Linked DNA regions of Homo sapiens: region 2 is linked to region 1. Evidence: promoter capture Hi-C in human tissues and cell types (Jung and others, 2019). All regions are on one chromosome and are shown on one strand. The core of a region is centred on a gene start or on the middle of the fragment in contact, and the rest is flanking DNA. Distances in the headings are between cores, read along the strand shown.

Region 1 (7,736 bases), core at 2,253-4,752:
ACCCTCAGACTACAAGAAGTCAACCAGTCTTGCACAACTATGCGGCCAGGATTCGCATCACCTGAGTGGTCGGGGGCTCACAAACCCTGAACTAGGATTGAGGTCACCCCAGACTAGCAGTGACCTGAGGGGCCTGGCAGAAGCAAATATAAATTATTTCTAGGGGGAGGCCTCAAATTATCCCTATGAATAAATTTTAAAATAGTGTCCAGCATGGTCAAAGAGAACCAGGCATATAACAAGGAACTATGACACCATGAGCAAGACCTAGCAGAAACAGACTCTTGGAGACTTCAAATACTAGAATCATCAGACACAGGCTGTAAAACTACTGTGCTTTGTTGAAAGAAAGAAGTGTAAAAATACCTGCAGGAGACAGGAAACTACTAAAAGTGACATACTAGATTTACAAAGGACATTTGAAGAAAGCTTTATGGTTTTATTGGGGATCAAAATCACAAATACTTTCAGGGGCCAGACAGGTAACACAAATGAGTAAAGTGGCTATGAGTGCACTGGTGACCCAGATAACTCTGTCTGAAAGATACAGACAGAGCTCTCTGCTCTAGCCGATGGGTGCCATGTGGCACTGAGGGTCCAGTTTGCAGATCTGCTGGTTCTAGAGAAGCTGGGTATTTTTTTTTTTCCTTCCTTCCTTCCTCCCTCCCTCCTTCCCTCTTTTTCTTCCTTCTTCCTTCCCTCCCTCTCTCCTTCTCCTCATCCCTCTCTCTTTTCTTCTTTCTTTCTTTCGTTCTTTCTTTTCTCTCTCTCTCTCTCTCTCTCTCTTTCTTTGCTTCATGCAGTGGCATGATCTTGGCTCACTGCAGCCTCTACGTTCTGGGCTCAAGCCATCTTCCCCACCTCAGCCTCCTGAGCAGCTGGGGCTGCAGATGCGCACAACCACACCTGGCTATTTTTTGAATTTTTTGTAGAGATGGGGTTTCACCATGTTGCCCAGGCTGGTCTCAAACTCCTGGCCTCTAGCAGTCCACCCACCTCGGCCTCCCAAAGTGCTGGAATCACAGATGTGAGCCACCGCGCCCAGCCTAGATTTCTTTTTATTATGATCAAATACACATAAAATTGACCATTGTAACCATTTAAAAGTGTACAATTCAGCGTCATTAAGTACATTCACATTGTTCTGCAACCATCACCACTATCTCATTCCAGAACTTTCCTATCACTCCGAAAGGAAACCCCACATCCGTTAGCAGTCACTCCTGCTCTCCCTCCCCCTTGCCTCTGGCAACCACCAATCTGATATCTGTCTTTATGGATTCGCCTAGTTGTAGATATCTCCCGCAAATGGACTTACGCATATTTATCCTTTTGTGACTGGCTTCTTTCACTTAGCGTGTTTCAAGGTTCACCCATGTTGTAGCATGTATTCATTCCCTTTTATGGCTGAATAATATTCCATTGTGTGGATAGACACATTTATCTGTTCCTCAGTCACTATTTGAATTCTGACATAATATTTTCCTATTTTAAATTTTAAGATACATTTTTTTAAAGTTTCATGTGGCCCAAAGCACATACCTATTGATCTCACATATCTCTGTGAGATCTGTTTTATGACCTGCTGTTGCATATTTTCCCAGAAAATTCTCGGAACGATTCTCTGAAGTCCTTCTTTCTCTTTCTCTTTTTTTTCTTTTTCTTTCTCTCTTTCTTTTTTTGTTTTGTTTTGTTTTATTTTGTTTTGTTTTGTTTTTTTGAGATTCAGTTTTGCTCTGTTGCCCAGGCTGGAGTGCAATGGCATGATCATTGCACCTCTGCCTCCCAGGTTCAAGCATTTTCCTGCCTCAGCCTCCCGCGTAGCTCAGATTACAGGCCTGCACCACCACGCCCAGCTAATTTTTGTATTTTTAGTAGAGACAGGGTTTCTCCATGTTGGCCAGGCTGGTCTCGAACTCCTGACCTCGTGATCTGCCCACTTCGGCCTCCAAAGTGCTGGGATTACAGGCATGAACCACCGCGCCCGGCCTTTTTTTTTTTTCTGAGACAGGGTCTCACTCTGTCTCCCAGGCTGGAGTGCAGTGGCTGGATCTCTGCTCACTGCAACCTCCGTCTCCCAGGTTCAAGCGAGTCTCCTGCCTCAGACTCCCGAGTAGCTGCGATTACAGGAGCCCACCACCGCGCCCGGCTAATTTTTGTATTTTTAGTAGAGACGGGGTTTCACCCACCATGTTGGCCAGGCTGGTATCGAACTCTTAACCTCAAGTGATCCACCCGCCTCGGCCTCCCAAAGTGCTGGTATTACAGGCATGAGCCACCGCGCCCGGCCAGTATTTGTTCTTTTCTTCATTTTTCACGTCAGGAGACTGCGTTTCAGAATAGTAAAAACAAATGCCTAGGAAAAGGCCTGCGGTCTCTCCATTTCCACAGTAGCGTGTTCCCCAAAGACCAAACCCTCAGGGGAAACGTCTAGAATGAGTAACAACTTAAGGCTGCAACCTTAAACTTTCCCAGGACTCAGTTTCCCCAGCTGTGAAATGGCTGCTGTCGGGCTGTCATCTCCAGGCCCGGGGCGCTGACATTTGGGCCACTCTCGGTCTCCCTCTTCATTCTGGGCGCGCATTAGCTCTGGTCCGGCCGGTTCCGCTGCAGCTGAACAGCAAGATGCGGCACCCAGGTTACCCTGATCATCGCAGATTTCTCCCCGGGGCTCTGTTCTGAGGCCTCAAAAGTGCTCCTTGTAGATGGGACCAGGGGTCATTTGGGCAGTAGCAGCGCCTGGTCTCAGTCTGGTACTGAAGTCAGGAATGGCTTAAGGTGAAATCGTGGTCCTCTGGTGAAGCTCAGCGAAGACCCCCTCGCCTTGTTTATGACAAGAGAACTTCTGGGGGCGGGAGGAAGAGTCCCTGTTACGATGCTGATCATCATTGAGCTTTTGCTGAGCAGAAAACTCTTTAGTACTCAAGGTCGAGAGTCTCTGGTGGTCTGCCTGGCACCAGGCACCTTCCTACAACCCTAGTTTTCCAAAAGGACAAAGCCTGGGGCAGGCGACGTCCTAGCTCGCATTTGAACAGGGCCGCGGGCCAGCAGAGATGCGCGATGCCCAACTCTTTCCAAGAGCACCTCGCGTCCCGAACCGGTGCCTTCAACTCGGAGAAGTCAAGAGACCCGCAAGAAACTTGCACGACTGCACCCGCCGCCGCGCTCTGGGGGCTGGGCAGGGGCAGCTGGGCTGGCTCCCGGGGAACGCGACCCCCCCGCGCCCCGCAGACCGGCTGTCTCCCATGGACCCCTCGGCACCTGCAGCCTCCGAGGAAGGGTCAGCGCGCGTGTCCGCACGCCCGCCCCCACCGCGCGCCCAGAGCCGGGGGTCGCCGTGCGCCCTTCGCCACCTCCCCAGGAGGGCGTCCGGGGCGTCCCCTCTGGGGGCGCAGGAGGCCCGGGGGCGCTGCCCGGTGGCCGCGGCGCCCGGAGGCCGCACTGCCGGCGGCGGCGGCGGCGCGGCTCCCCCTGCTCTGTGCAGCTGCCGCCCGGCGCTTGCGCACTGGGCCAGGCGCGCGGCGGCCCCGGGCTTTGTGTGTGTGTGTATGTGTGTGTGTGTGTGTGTGTGTGTGTGAGTGTGTGCGTGTGAGAGTGCGAGTGTCTGTGCGCGAGTGAGTGAGCGGCGGGCGGGCGCGAGTGTGGCCGCCGCGGAGCGCGAGCAGGACCCGGCGGGCGCGCTCCCCAGCCTCCGTCTCCCCGCCGGAACCATGTCGGGCAGGTCGGTTCGAGCCGAGACGAGGAGCCGGGCCAAAGATGATATCAAGAGGGTCATGGCGGCGATCGAGAAAGTGCGCAAATGGTAAGCGGAGGCGCCCGCCGCCAGCCGCCTCCCCGGCCGCCCCGAGCCCGAGCGCGGCTCCAGAGAGCCGCGGGGCGCAGCGCCCCGGCCGCCTGCCCCGGCCCAGCCCCGCCGCGGGCCCCGGGACTTGGCGAGGGCGGGCGGACGGGCGGGCGGCGCGCGAGCCGGGTCACCTGCGCCAGGCTGGGGCCGCGGCCGCTGCCCAGGTGCGCTCGCGCCTGTAGCCCACCTGGCGCGGCGGCCCGGAGGCGGCGGGCGCCGGGGCCAGGCGGTTGGAGCGGCGGGGCGGCCCCCGCCGCGGCGCTCGGCTCCCGGGAGGGGGGCTCGGGGCCGGCCCCAGAAGCCATTTCGTTTTGTGCAAGTCACATGAAAGCGGCTTCCCGCGCGCCGGGGCCGCGATGCCGGCGGCGGCGGGGAGAGCGCGAGCTCCATTGTGCAGGCTCCGAGCGGGCCGCCGCCGCCGTCTCCTCCCCGCGCACCCCGGCCCGCGCCCCGCCGCCCTCCGCCAGCCCCGGCCCGCCCGGCCGCCCGCTCCCGCCTCCCGGGCCCGGCGCCCTCGAGTCTGCGGAGTTTGCAGAGCGCGAGCCGTTTAAATTTAGCGCTTTGGGCTGCCTGGAGCGAGGGCTCTCGGCGACCAGGAAAGATGGGGGCGAGCGCTGGGAGCCAGCGGCCAGGGGCGCGGGGCGCCCACGTCCCACCCCGCTCTGCGCGGCGCCCCGGGCGGGGGGCTCGGGCCAGCCGATGTTTTTGGCCAGAAGCCGTTCGTCCTGGGCCGCGGCTGCCTCTCCACACCGGGAGCTCGTGTTTGTTTTGCGGAGGGAGCTGTTGTTTTTGTTCTCTGCACCGGGGAGAGGGGGACTTGGTGGCGGCCGCGCGTGGTTTTCGGGATCACATTAGCGTCCGCCCGGCGTGGCCCGGTCGACATTAAGGGGATCGAACCTTTCCGCGGCCTCGTCGGGGTCTGCTCGGAATCGGCCCCTGGGCCAGGCCCGAGGCGCAAGCAGATCGCCAGGTTGGGTCAGAGTTGTTGAAAACTCCCCGCTGCCTGATTTCAACTTTATTATTTTTTTCCCACGCCTTCACTGGGGTCCCGGAGGGAGAGGAGCCGCCGCAACGCTGGCTCTGAGTGTCAGCGCCCGCGGGCTCGTCTCGACCCTTTATTTCGAGCCTGGAAGCTGGGCAGGCCCTGTGGCAGGGGATGTTTACGTTTGGGGGTGTCGTTTCTCGAGTAGCGCCTCGGTCTCTAAAAGCCACTGGGGGCGAGCCTCCGGTGTGGCGGTGTCACAAGTTAGCTGTCCTTTCTGAGTCAAACCCAACAAAAAAGGCAAGAGGAAAATCAATAAAGTCCACGTGCTCCCCGGCCTCCTATGGAAAGGGCTGGCTGCGATGGCCGGATGCCCGGCCGTGGGCTGGGTTTGGCTCCAGTGGGACAAAGAATTTTCAGAACCGTGAGAAGGGGAGGCTTTCCAAAGTTGAGATCCAAGTCGTCGGTGTCTCGGGAGCTCCCCTGGTACACAGGGTGCCCGGTGCCCGACTGGAGCCATTTAAAAATGGCAGAAACAGCTGCAGGCCAACACACACACGCTGGAAAACAACCCGCAGCCCCCTCTACTGTGGGATTCCCCGCGGGAAGCCCGGAGTTGCTCCCCTCCTTGCCTCAGCCCCTGTGCAAAGAAAGAACTGGTGTCTGTGCCTGGGTCCCTTCTGTCGCCGGCCTGGAGGTTGGGAAACAGCCGGCAAGCCGCCTTTCTCTGCTCGAGGAGGCGTGGTGGGGCCTCCTACTCCAGGTTCCCGGCTGGACAGAGGCTCCTGCACCCTGACAGCTGCTCCCGCAGAGCGGCCAGCTGCTCTGCAGGGAGGGCAGATGGAGAGATGGGGCTTCCCACCCCGCGGGCCCCGGGGCGGCCGGCCTGGAGGCCTTCCAGCCCGCTGACCCCGCGGGGACCAGGCCTGTAGTTGGAGCTTGAGGGGCTGTACCTCTGCGCCTCCCTGGGTTTGGGGAAACAACACATCGTGTCCTCTGAAGACCTCAGGCTTTGGGATCTCATGGTCCAGCTTCCAGTTCACTTCGTTGCCGCGACCTTGGGCATATCATTGTCACTTCTCTAACCATGGTGACCCGGGGTTTTGTGCTTGGCTTCCAGGTCCCCTCGGGTTATTGAGGACGATTGAGGTCATGCCTCCGAGAGCACCGCGCCCTGGGCGCAGGAGGAGCTGTTGCTCAGTGTTGTCTGTGTTGTAAGGTGGACTTTGTAGAAACTTGGCTTTGAGGTTTTTTGTTTTTTTTTTTTTTTGGCCCCTTCTAAGCGAAAGCCTTGGACTTATTGCCCAGGTTTCTCTGGCCCCTGAGAAGCCATATCTCACCTTCCCCGCGCCTTCGGATTGGGTCTTAGACTCAGCCCATGAGACTGTGGGTTGTTTATTAATTGTGTGGTCACCAACCATGCATTTCACCACTGGTGGGGGGGTGGGGTTGCCAGGTTTAACCAGATAAAAATACAGCACACCCAGTTAAATTTGAATTTCAGATAAACAATGAAAGATTTTTTTAAAAATAAATGTTTTTGAGTATGTCTCATGCAATATTTGGGACACACTTATACTAAAACATTATCTAATTTATCTGAAATGCAAATTTAACAGGGCACCCTGTATTTTACCCAGAGGGAAGCCGAAGTGTTTGGCAGATCATTTGGCCCCATGAGCCTTGGGTGGGTTTCTCCTCAGCCCTAGTGACCCCTAAAATTACCCCCCCGACCCACCCACTGTCCCCTGATGCTTCCCCCACCCCCGGAAAAAGCTGTGGCCTCCCTCTCATTTGGGGCAGGCTGCCTCCTGTTCTCTTTTTCTGGTGTTTCAGCAAGGCAGGCCAGTGGAGGTGAGGTGACCAGAAGATGGCTAAAGGGAAAACAAAATGGTGGGCCTCTTTTTGGGAAACTGGGCCAGGGTTTGGGGGCCCTGTGCTGGTGGAGGAGAGAAGACCCCAGGGCGATGGTAGGAGACGAAAGCTTGGGCTGCAGCGTAAGCTTGGAGGCCCGCTGCGGTGGCTCACGCCTGTAATCCCAGAGCTTTGGGAGGCTGAGACAGGAGGATTGCTTGAGCCCAGGAGTTTGAGACCAGCCTGGGTCTCAAACCAAAAAAAAAGAAAAAGAAAAAAAAGAGCCGGGCGCGGTGGCTCACGCCTGTAATTTCAGCACTCTGGGAGGCCGGGCAGGCGGATCACGAGGTCAGGAGATCAAGACCATCCTGGCAAACATGGTGAAACCCCGTCTCTACTAAAAAAATACAAAAAAATTAGCCAGGCGTGGTGGCGGGCGCCTGTAGTCCCAGCTACTTGGGAGGCTGAGGCAGGAGAATGGCGGGAACCCAGGAGGTGGAGCTTGCAGTGAGCGGAGATTGCGCCACCGCACTCCAGCCTGGGCAACAGAGCGAGACTCCATCTCAAAAAAAAAAAAGAAGAAGAAGAAAAAAGAAAAATTAGTCTGGACGCAGTGGCTCATGCCTGTAATCCCAGCACTTTGGGAGGCCGAGGCAGGCAGGTCACCTGAAGTCAGGAGTTGGAAACCAGCCTGGCCAACATGGTGAAACCCTGTCTCTACTAAAAATACAAAAAATTAGCTGGATGTGGTGGTACACGCCTGTAATCCCAGCTACTCTTAAGGCTGAGGCAGGAAAATTGCTTGAACCTGGGAGGCGCAGGTTGCAGTAAGCCGAGATCGCGCCACTGCACTCCAGCCTGAGCAACAGAGCAAGACTCCATCTCAAAAAAAAAAAAAAAAAAAAAAGAAGAAAGAAAAGAGAAAAGGCCGGGCACGTTGGCTCACACCTGTAATCCCAGCACTTTAGGAGGCCGAGGAGGGAGGATCACGAGGTCAGGAGATCGAGACCATCCTGGCTAACAGTGAAACCCCATCTCTACTAAAAATACAAAAAA
Region 2 (7,527 bases), core at 560-3,059, 480 kb before region 1:
TGTCTCTACTGAAAAAATGCAAAAAAATTAGCCGGGTGTGGTGTTGCATGCCTGTAGTTCCAGCTAAATCGGGAGGCTGAGGCAGGAGAATCACTGGAACCCGGGAGGCAGAGGTTGCAGTGAGCCGAGATTGCATCACCGGCACTCCAGCCTGGGCAGCAGAGCGAGACTCTGTCTCAAAAAAAAAAAAAAAAAAAAAAAGTAGAGGATGCCAGAATTCCAATGCAGCCACATGGACAAATATCTTGCCCACCTGTGAACACTCTTCCACATCCACTGTGGGCTCTGTCTCCCCCATAGCATGGGAAGAAGGCAGGGCAGAGATGGCAGGACCCCTACATTGTAGAAGAAGAAACAGTCCCTTCAAGAGGATGGGCCAGGTGCAGTGGCTTGAGTTTGTAATCCCAACACTTTGGGAGGCCGAGGCGGGTGGATCACCTGAGGTTGGGAGTTCGAGACCAGCCTGACCAACATGGAGAAACCCTGTCTCTACTAAAAATACAAAATTAGCCAGCCGTGGTGGCACATGCCTGTAATCCCAGCTACTCAGGAGGCTGAGGCAGGAGAATCGCTTGAACCCAGGAGGCGGAGGTTGGGGTGAGCAGAGCTCGCACCATTGCACTCCAGCCTGGGCAACAAGAGTGAAACTCCACTCAAAATAAATAAATAAATAAGCCAGGGGATAGTGGCATACACCTGTAGTGCCAGCTACTCCAGAAGGAGGGAGGAGGATGCCTTGGGCCCAGGACTCTGAGGCTGCAATGAACTGTGATTGTGCCACTGCACTGAAGCCTTGGCAACAGAGACAGCCCCTGTCTCAAAAAAAAAAAAAAAAAAAAAAGGAAGGACGGAGGGAAGGAGGGAGGGAGGGAGGGAGAGAGGGAGGGAAATTTTATTTATCAAGCAGAATCCTATAGATAAAAGAGAAAAAAAAAGAAAGCCTTGCTGGAGTGAGAGAGTAGCAGAAGCCCCAAAATGTACACAAAATGTGCCCCAAAATGTGCCCAGCCCAGTGCCTCTGTTTCCTCTTCTCTGTGTGTCAGGTTCTCACTCCCCCAACAATTTCCCCAGTTCCTCCTGCCACCCCCAGAAAGTACACAGGGAAGAGAACCCACTCAACTATCAATTATCTGAGGGCCAAACCTATGCTTTATGTGGGGTCCCCATTTTGCTGGGCTTTTGAGCTCCTTTACTGCTTGTCAGATCACAGCATATCTTCATTCCACCAAGAAACTTGATCTCTACAAACCTGTATTCTACAGGAGCAAAGGAGGGGAGGAGACTCACTAATCCACTTCTGGAATCTATCACAGAACCCAGCGGTGCTAAGTGAAAAAGGTGAGCCCATGTCATAGAACTAGGCAACTGTGGAGGCTTTGAAACATGTCTACAAATGCTTTGATACACCTCCCTTCGAGAGGCAGAGCTAAATTCTCCTCCCCTTGAGTATGAGCTGGACTTAGTGATTTACTTTTAATTAACAGAATATGGCAGGAGCAAACAATATGTGACTTTCAAAATTAGGTCATAAATGGCACTGTGGCTTCCTCCTTGGTGTTTCTTGAACCATTCACTATGGGGAACCCACTGCCATATCATGAGGACACTCAAGCAGACCTATGGAGAGCTATATGTGGCAAGGAACTGAGGCCTCCTGCCAACAGCCACGGGGATGCACCATCTTGGAAGCGGATCTTCCAGCCCATAGAGGCTTCAGCTGACTGCAGCCCAGGCCTACATCATTCCCCCCACTGCAACATTTCTCACTATGTTGGCCAGGCTGCTCTTGAACTCCTGGGCTCAAGCACTCCACCCCCCTTGGCCTCCCAAAGTGCTGTGATTACAGGCGTAAGCCACCACACATGGCCAAGGCCTAACACAAGCTTATAAGAGACCCTGAGCCAGAACCACCCAGCTCAGTTGTTCCCAGATTCCTGAATCACAGAAACTGTGAGATAATGTTTGATGTTTTAAGCTGCTAAAATTTTTCTTAAGCTCTGAAGTTTTAGAATAATTATACAGCAATAAGCAACTAATGCAGGAATACTCCCAAATAACAGTCACTATCTATTTGGTTATAAGGAATTTTCTAAGACAAATGGTTCTATACATCCAATGCATTCCTGCAGGGTACAGATGAAGAAAAAGGCCATTGGCAGAGATGCACCTTGTCTTCAGTATTCATTCAGCCCAATCCTTTTTCCTGCTTTATGTTTCTCCATGACCATTAAACCTCCTAAATTATTCCCTCATTGGCTTTCCTGTCTCTTTTTTCCCACCACAATGTATGCTCCACGAGAATGGGGACTTGGCTTTATGCACTGAAGTCCACCCACTACTACATAGAATCATGTCTTGCACATAAGATAACTAATAAATTAACATACTCCTTGCAAATCTTTTGTCTCTGTGAAGGTGCAACTACCCCCACTCCACTCCTATTACTCCTACCTGTTTTTAAGTATCTCAACTAAAATAAAAATCACTGAGGCCCGGCGCAGTGGGTCATGGGTCATGCCTGTAATCCCAGCACGTTGGGAGGCTGAGGCGGGTAGATCACTTGAGGTCAGGAGTTCAAGACCAACTTGGCCAACATGGCGAAACCCCTGTCTCTACTAAAAATACAAAAATTAGCTGGGTGTAATGGCGGGAGCCTGTAATCCCAGCTACTTGGGAGGCTGATGCAGGAGAATCGCTTGAACCCCAGAGGTGGAGGTTACAGTAAGCTGAGATCTCACCACTGCGCTCCAGCCTGGGCGACAGAGTGAAACTCTTTCTCAAAAAAGAAAAAAGAAAAGAAAAACACTGAGTCCTAAGCCAGCTGGGCATGGTGGCTCACACCCATATTTGTAACTATCTGGATCACTTGAGGCCAGGAGTTCAAGACCAGCCTGGGTAACACAGAGACATCCCCCTGCTGCCATCTCTACAAATTTAAAAAAAAATTTTTTAATTTTTAAAAAGATCAGCCGGGCCTGGTGGCTCATGCCTGTAATCCCAGCACTTTGGGAGGTCGAGGTGGGCAGATCACGAGGTCAGGAGATCGAAACCATCCTGGCCAACATGGTGAAACCCCATCTCTACTAAAAATACAAAAATTAGCTGGGCATGGTGGCGTGTGCCTGTAATCCCAGCTACTCAGGAGGCTGAGGGAATCACTTAACCAGGGAGTCAGAGGTTGCAGTGAGTCGAGATCATGCCACTGCATTCCAGCCTGGCGACAGAGTGAGACTCCGTCTAAAAAACAAAAAACAAAATTAGGCCAGGAGTAGTGGCACACCCCACCTGTAATCCCAGCACTTTGGGAGGCCAAGGTCGGTGGACCACTTGAGTCCAGGAGGTCAAGACCAGCCTGGGCCAACATGGCGAAACCCCATATCTAACAAAATTAGCCAGGCGTGGTGGTGTGTGCCTATGGTCCCAGCTGCTCGGGAGGCTGAGAAAGGGAGGATTGCTTGAGCCTGGGAGGAGGAAGTTGCAACGACCCACAATTGCGCCACTGCACTCCAGCCTGGGCAACAGAGAGAGACCCTGCCTCAAAAAAAAAAAAAAAAAAAAAAAGCCAGGTACACACCTATAGTCCTAGCTACTCAGGAGGCTGATGTAGGAGGATCACTCAGGAAGCTGAGGTAGGAGGAGTCCTGGGAGTTTAAGGCTGCAGTAAGCTAGGACTGTGCACTACACTGCAGCCTGGGCAACAAAGCAAGACTCTGTCTCCAAAAAATAAAAAACAAATAAACAAAAAGATTCCTGGCTGGGCATGGTGGCTCACACCTGTAATCCCTGCACTTTGGGAAGCCAAGGCAGGTGATCACCTGAGGTCAGGAGCTCAAGACCAGCTTGGCCAACATGGTGAAACCCCGTCTCTACTAAAAATATAAACATTAGCCGGGTGTGTTGGTGCACACCTGTAGTCCCAGCTGCTCGGGAGGCTGAGGCAGGAGAATCGCTTGATCCCGGGAGGCGGAGGTTGCAGTGAGCTGAGATCATACCACCGCACTCCAGCCTGGACAACACAGTGAGTCTCCGTCCCCCCCCAAAAAAAGAAAAAATCAGCCAGGTGTGGTGGCTCACGCCTGTAATCCCAGTACTTTGGGAGGCCAAGGCGGGCAGATCACCTGAGGTCAGGAGTTCGAGACCGGCCTGGCCAACATGGTGAAACCCTGTCTCTACTAAAAATACAAAAATTAGCTGGGTGTGGTGGTGGGTGCCTGTAATCCCAGCTACTTGGGAGGCTGAGGCAGGAGAATCGTTTGAACCTGGGAGGCGGAGGTTGCAGTGAGCCGAGATCGTGCCATTGCACTCCAGCCTGGGCAACAGAGTGAGACCCTCTCTAAAAAAATAAAAATTAAAAAATTTTTAAAAATTCCTAAGCCCATCACCAAAAGTCCTGGAGCCGGGTGGGGGAAGCAGTCGTGTGTCTGTGTCACTTCTCTCTTCCCTACTGCAGTCCTTCCCTCAGGTGTGCTGACAGCCATCTCTACCCTCCAGGGCCTCCAGCATGAAAGCTCCATGATTTCTAGAAACAATGTCATCTTAATTAAATTCTACAGAACTGTTCTACGATCCCGGAGGACTTCATCAGGGTGGGATTTTTTTTACCTTGCTTATTAACTGAAATCGGTATTCTTTTCAGCAAAACAAATGGACTATTTCCAAGATGACAATTTCCTTCCTAACGAGGTTCGAATCCTCTAACCAGTTCCCATGACCACTGACGGGGTCCGTAGCTCTATTCGCCACACAATTCGACCCCAAGACAAATGGTCCTAGAAAACTGGCAGTGTGTGCACAGTGACAGACAACGGTTTTAAAAAAAGAAAAAAAAATGAGTGTGTGAGCCTCACTTTTTTTTTTGGTAATTAGATAGGATCCTCAATATATTAATAGAGCTTACTATTTAAAGGAATCTTTCAATAAAGTGCAGAATATGCTGAGTATCTCAGGAAGGCAAGGTAGGCATTAATTATGAAACTGAAATCTGTGTCACCCAGCGCAGTCTCTTTTGCATTCCTAAATCTATGTCCAGCTGGACCCTCAGCCCCTCCGCTCTCCCTGCCCGTCACTCCCAATTCCACACCATGCCGTGGCCTCCTCATGTTCACGTGCCCCCACGCCATCCAATCCCCATAGCAACAAGAGGACCTGCAGAATGCAAACCTGAACACATTTCTCTCTGCTCAAAATCTTGGAGAGGATTCCAGCTGTTCTTACAGGAAATGCAGACCCTCTGTTCTGCCTGGCCCACCCCACACCCACCCTGCATTCACTGCCTCTGTTCCAGCCCCACTGGCCTTCCTTCCACAGGTCCCCTGCCCCTCCCCACCATCCCAAGTCGACTACACACAGCCAGGAAAGCCCTCCCAGTCTTCTTCACCTAAGTAACCCTGCTCAGCCTTCAGACTCCAGCTCAGAACACCTTCCCCGACCACCTTGACTGGGCGAATCTCCTCCCCTAGTACCAGCTCTGGGGCACTGTGGGCCTCATCGCAGCTGCAAGTTCCCATCTATTTCTGTGATTACTGGATTTACATCTGTCTCCCCCATACACTGTGTATGCTCCAGGAGAGCAGGAACCTCTTCTGGTTTCCTCCCCACTGTAAACCCCAGTACTCAGCACCAATCAAGGGCTCAAGACATAGGCGCTGAATGAATGAATGAATCAATCAACCAATCAATGAACCATCATCTCAATCAATCAATGAGCCATCATCTGCCTCTAACTAATAATCTCTGAGTCCCACAGCCTTTTTTCGGGGCCCTTTTCACTTCTCTCCCATCTCCTCTGTCTTTTTTTTTTGCCTTTTTTTTTTTTTTTTTTTTTGAGACGGAGTCTCGCTCTGTCACCCAGGCTGGAGTGCAGTGGCGCGATCTCGGCTCACTGCAAGCTCCACCTCCTGGGTTCACATCATTCTCCTGCCTCAGCCTCCCGAGTAGCTGGGACTACAGGCGCCCGCCACCATGCCCGGCTAATTTTTTTTTGGTTTTTTTTTTTTGTTTGTTTGTTTAGTAGAGACGGGGTTTCACCATGTTAGCCAGGATGGTCTCGATCTCCTGACCTCGTGATCTGCCCACCTCGGCCTCCCAAAGTGCTGGGATTACAGGTGTGAGCCTCCGCGCCCAGCCTCTTTGTCTTTTTTTTTTTTTGAGACATGCTCTCATTCTGTCACCCAGGCTAGAGTGCAGTGATGCCATCTCGGCTCACTGTAAGCTCCATCTCCCAGGTTCAAGCAAATCTTCTGCTTCCTGCAGCTGGGACTACAGGCACCCACCACCACACCTGGCTAATTTATTTTTTTAGTAGAGATGGGGTTTTACCATGTTGGCCAAGCTGGTGTCAAACTCCTGACCCCAGGTGATCTGCCCCCTCTTGGCCTCGCAAAGTGCTGGGATTACAGGTGTGACCCACCGCACCTGGCCTCCTCTGTCATTTGAAGCTCAGGAAGAATGTCCTCTCCAAGAAGGGGATGTCCCCTGATGACACCAGCCAAATGGGATTCCTCTAGTCCCTGCTCCCCTCCCAGGACTGGAGCCACACCTCAGGCCCCTACGCGAGGCACAGCACTTTCTCCAGAGGGTAGGGGCTTGTAGTCTTGTTCCTGTTTTTACTTCCCCATCCCAGGAGCTCTGTCAATTTTGCTGCGACTGAATCCAAACAGAATGGAATTGAAAACAAGCCCTGCTCCCTCCCCACCTCGAGCCCAGTCTCTGCCTTTGATGCAGCCCAGATCCAAGGCATGGATGGAGCTTCAGCTTGAAGGGGAGGAAAACCGCCTACAAAGTAATTAAAGAAAGAGAGAGAGAGAGAGCTTGAAAGCAAAACCTTGAGAAGCCCAAGGGCCAGCCTGCTGGCCTCCCTTACAAAGCCTGGCATGCAGTCCGCACTCACTATGCACTGAATTAAGGGCTGAGTGAATGAAAAGTTCACAGCCTTGAAGCTCCTGGGGGCATTCCTGGCAGCAGGGCTGAGCAGACAGATGCTAATGGATTCAGGCCGCCAGCGCCAACTCTTCTAGGAAGCCCAGAGCAATGGCCCTGCCTGGGACAGCCTGTGTCTCCTTCCCCTTCCTTTTTTTTTTTTTTTTTTTTTTGAGACAGAGTCTCGCTCTGTCGCCCAGGCTGGAGTGCAGTGGCTCAATCACTGCAACCTTCGCCTCCCAGGTTCAAGCAATTATCCTGCCTCAGCCTCCTGAGTAGCTGGAATTACAGGCGTGCACCACCACACCGGGTCAATTTTTGTATTTTTCGTAGAGACAGAGTTTTGCCATGTTGGTCTGGCTGGTCTCGAACTCCTGACCTCGTGATCTGCCCGCCTCAGCCTCCCAAAGTGCTGGGATTACAGGTGTGAGCCACCCCGCCCGGCCTCTTTCCCCTTTCAGAGTTGGAAACAGAGCTGGAAGCCTCAAAGGTGACTTCCTCCTCCCAAAAGTTCTGTTACTCAAGTCCTTGAACATGGAGGGGCTCAAAGGTGCTACAGCCCATGTTAAATAATCAGTCTCAGGACTTGCTGGTAATGCCACATGTTGT

The links. Contacts are between HindIII fragments. The study calls those that stand out against the background at their distance.
Region 2: a contact is called between a fragment that was not itself captured here and the fragment with the promoter of BCL7A in region 1, in 1 of the 25 tissues and cell types used here (aorta).

What each region holds. Positions count from the first base shown.
Region 1 is chr12:122,018,382-122,026,117 of GRCh38, forward strand. It overlaps BCL7A (BAF chromatin remodeling complex subunit BCL7A), which reads left to right and starts at 3,503. Exons shown (of 6, transcript NM_001024808.3): 1 at 3,503-3,802. The coding sequence starts at 3,711. RefSeq lists silencers at 3,382-3,461, 3,592-3,911, 4,062-4,221, 5,702-5,791 and an enhancer at 4,056-4,871. The HindIII fragment of the contact is 14,578 bases long and covers 1-7,736 here.
Region 2 is chr12:121,540,577-121,548,103 of GRCh38, forward strand. The region is part of intron 6 of KDM2B (lysine demethylase 2B); the gene reads right to left. Among named protein-coding and RNA genes, the nearest start is that of KDM2B-DT, 36 kb to the right of the region's middle. RefSeq lists an enhancer at 6,396-7,101. The HindIII fragment of the contact is 8,624 bases long and covers 1-6,121 here.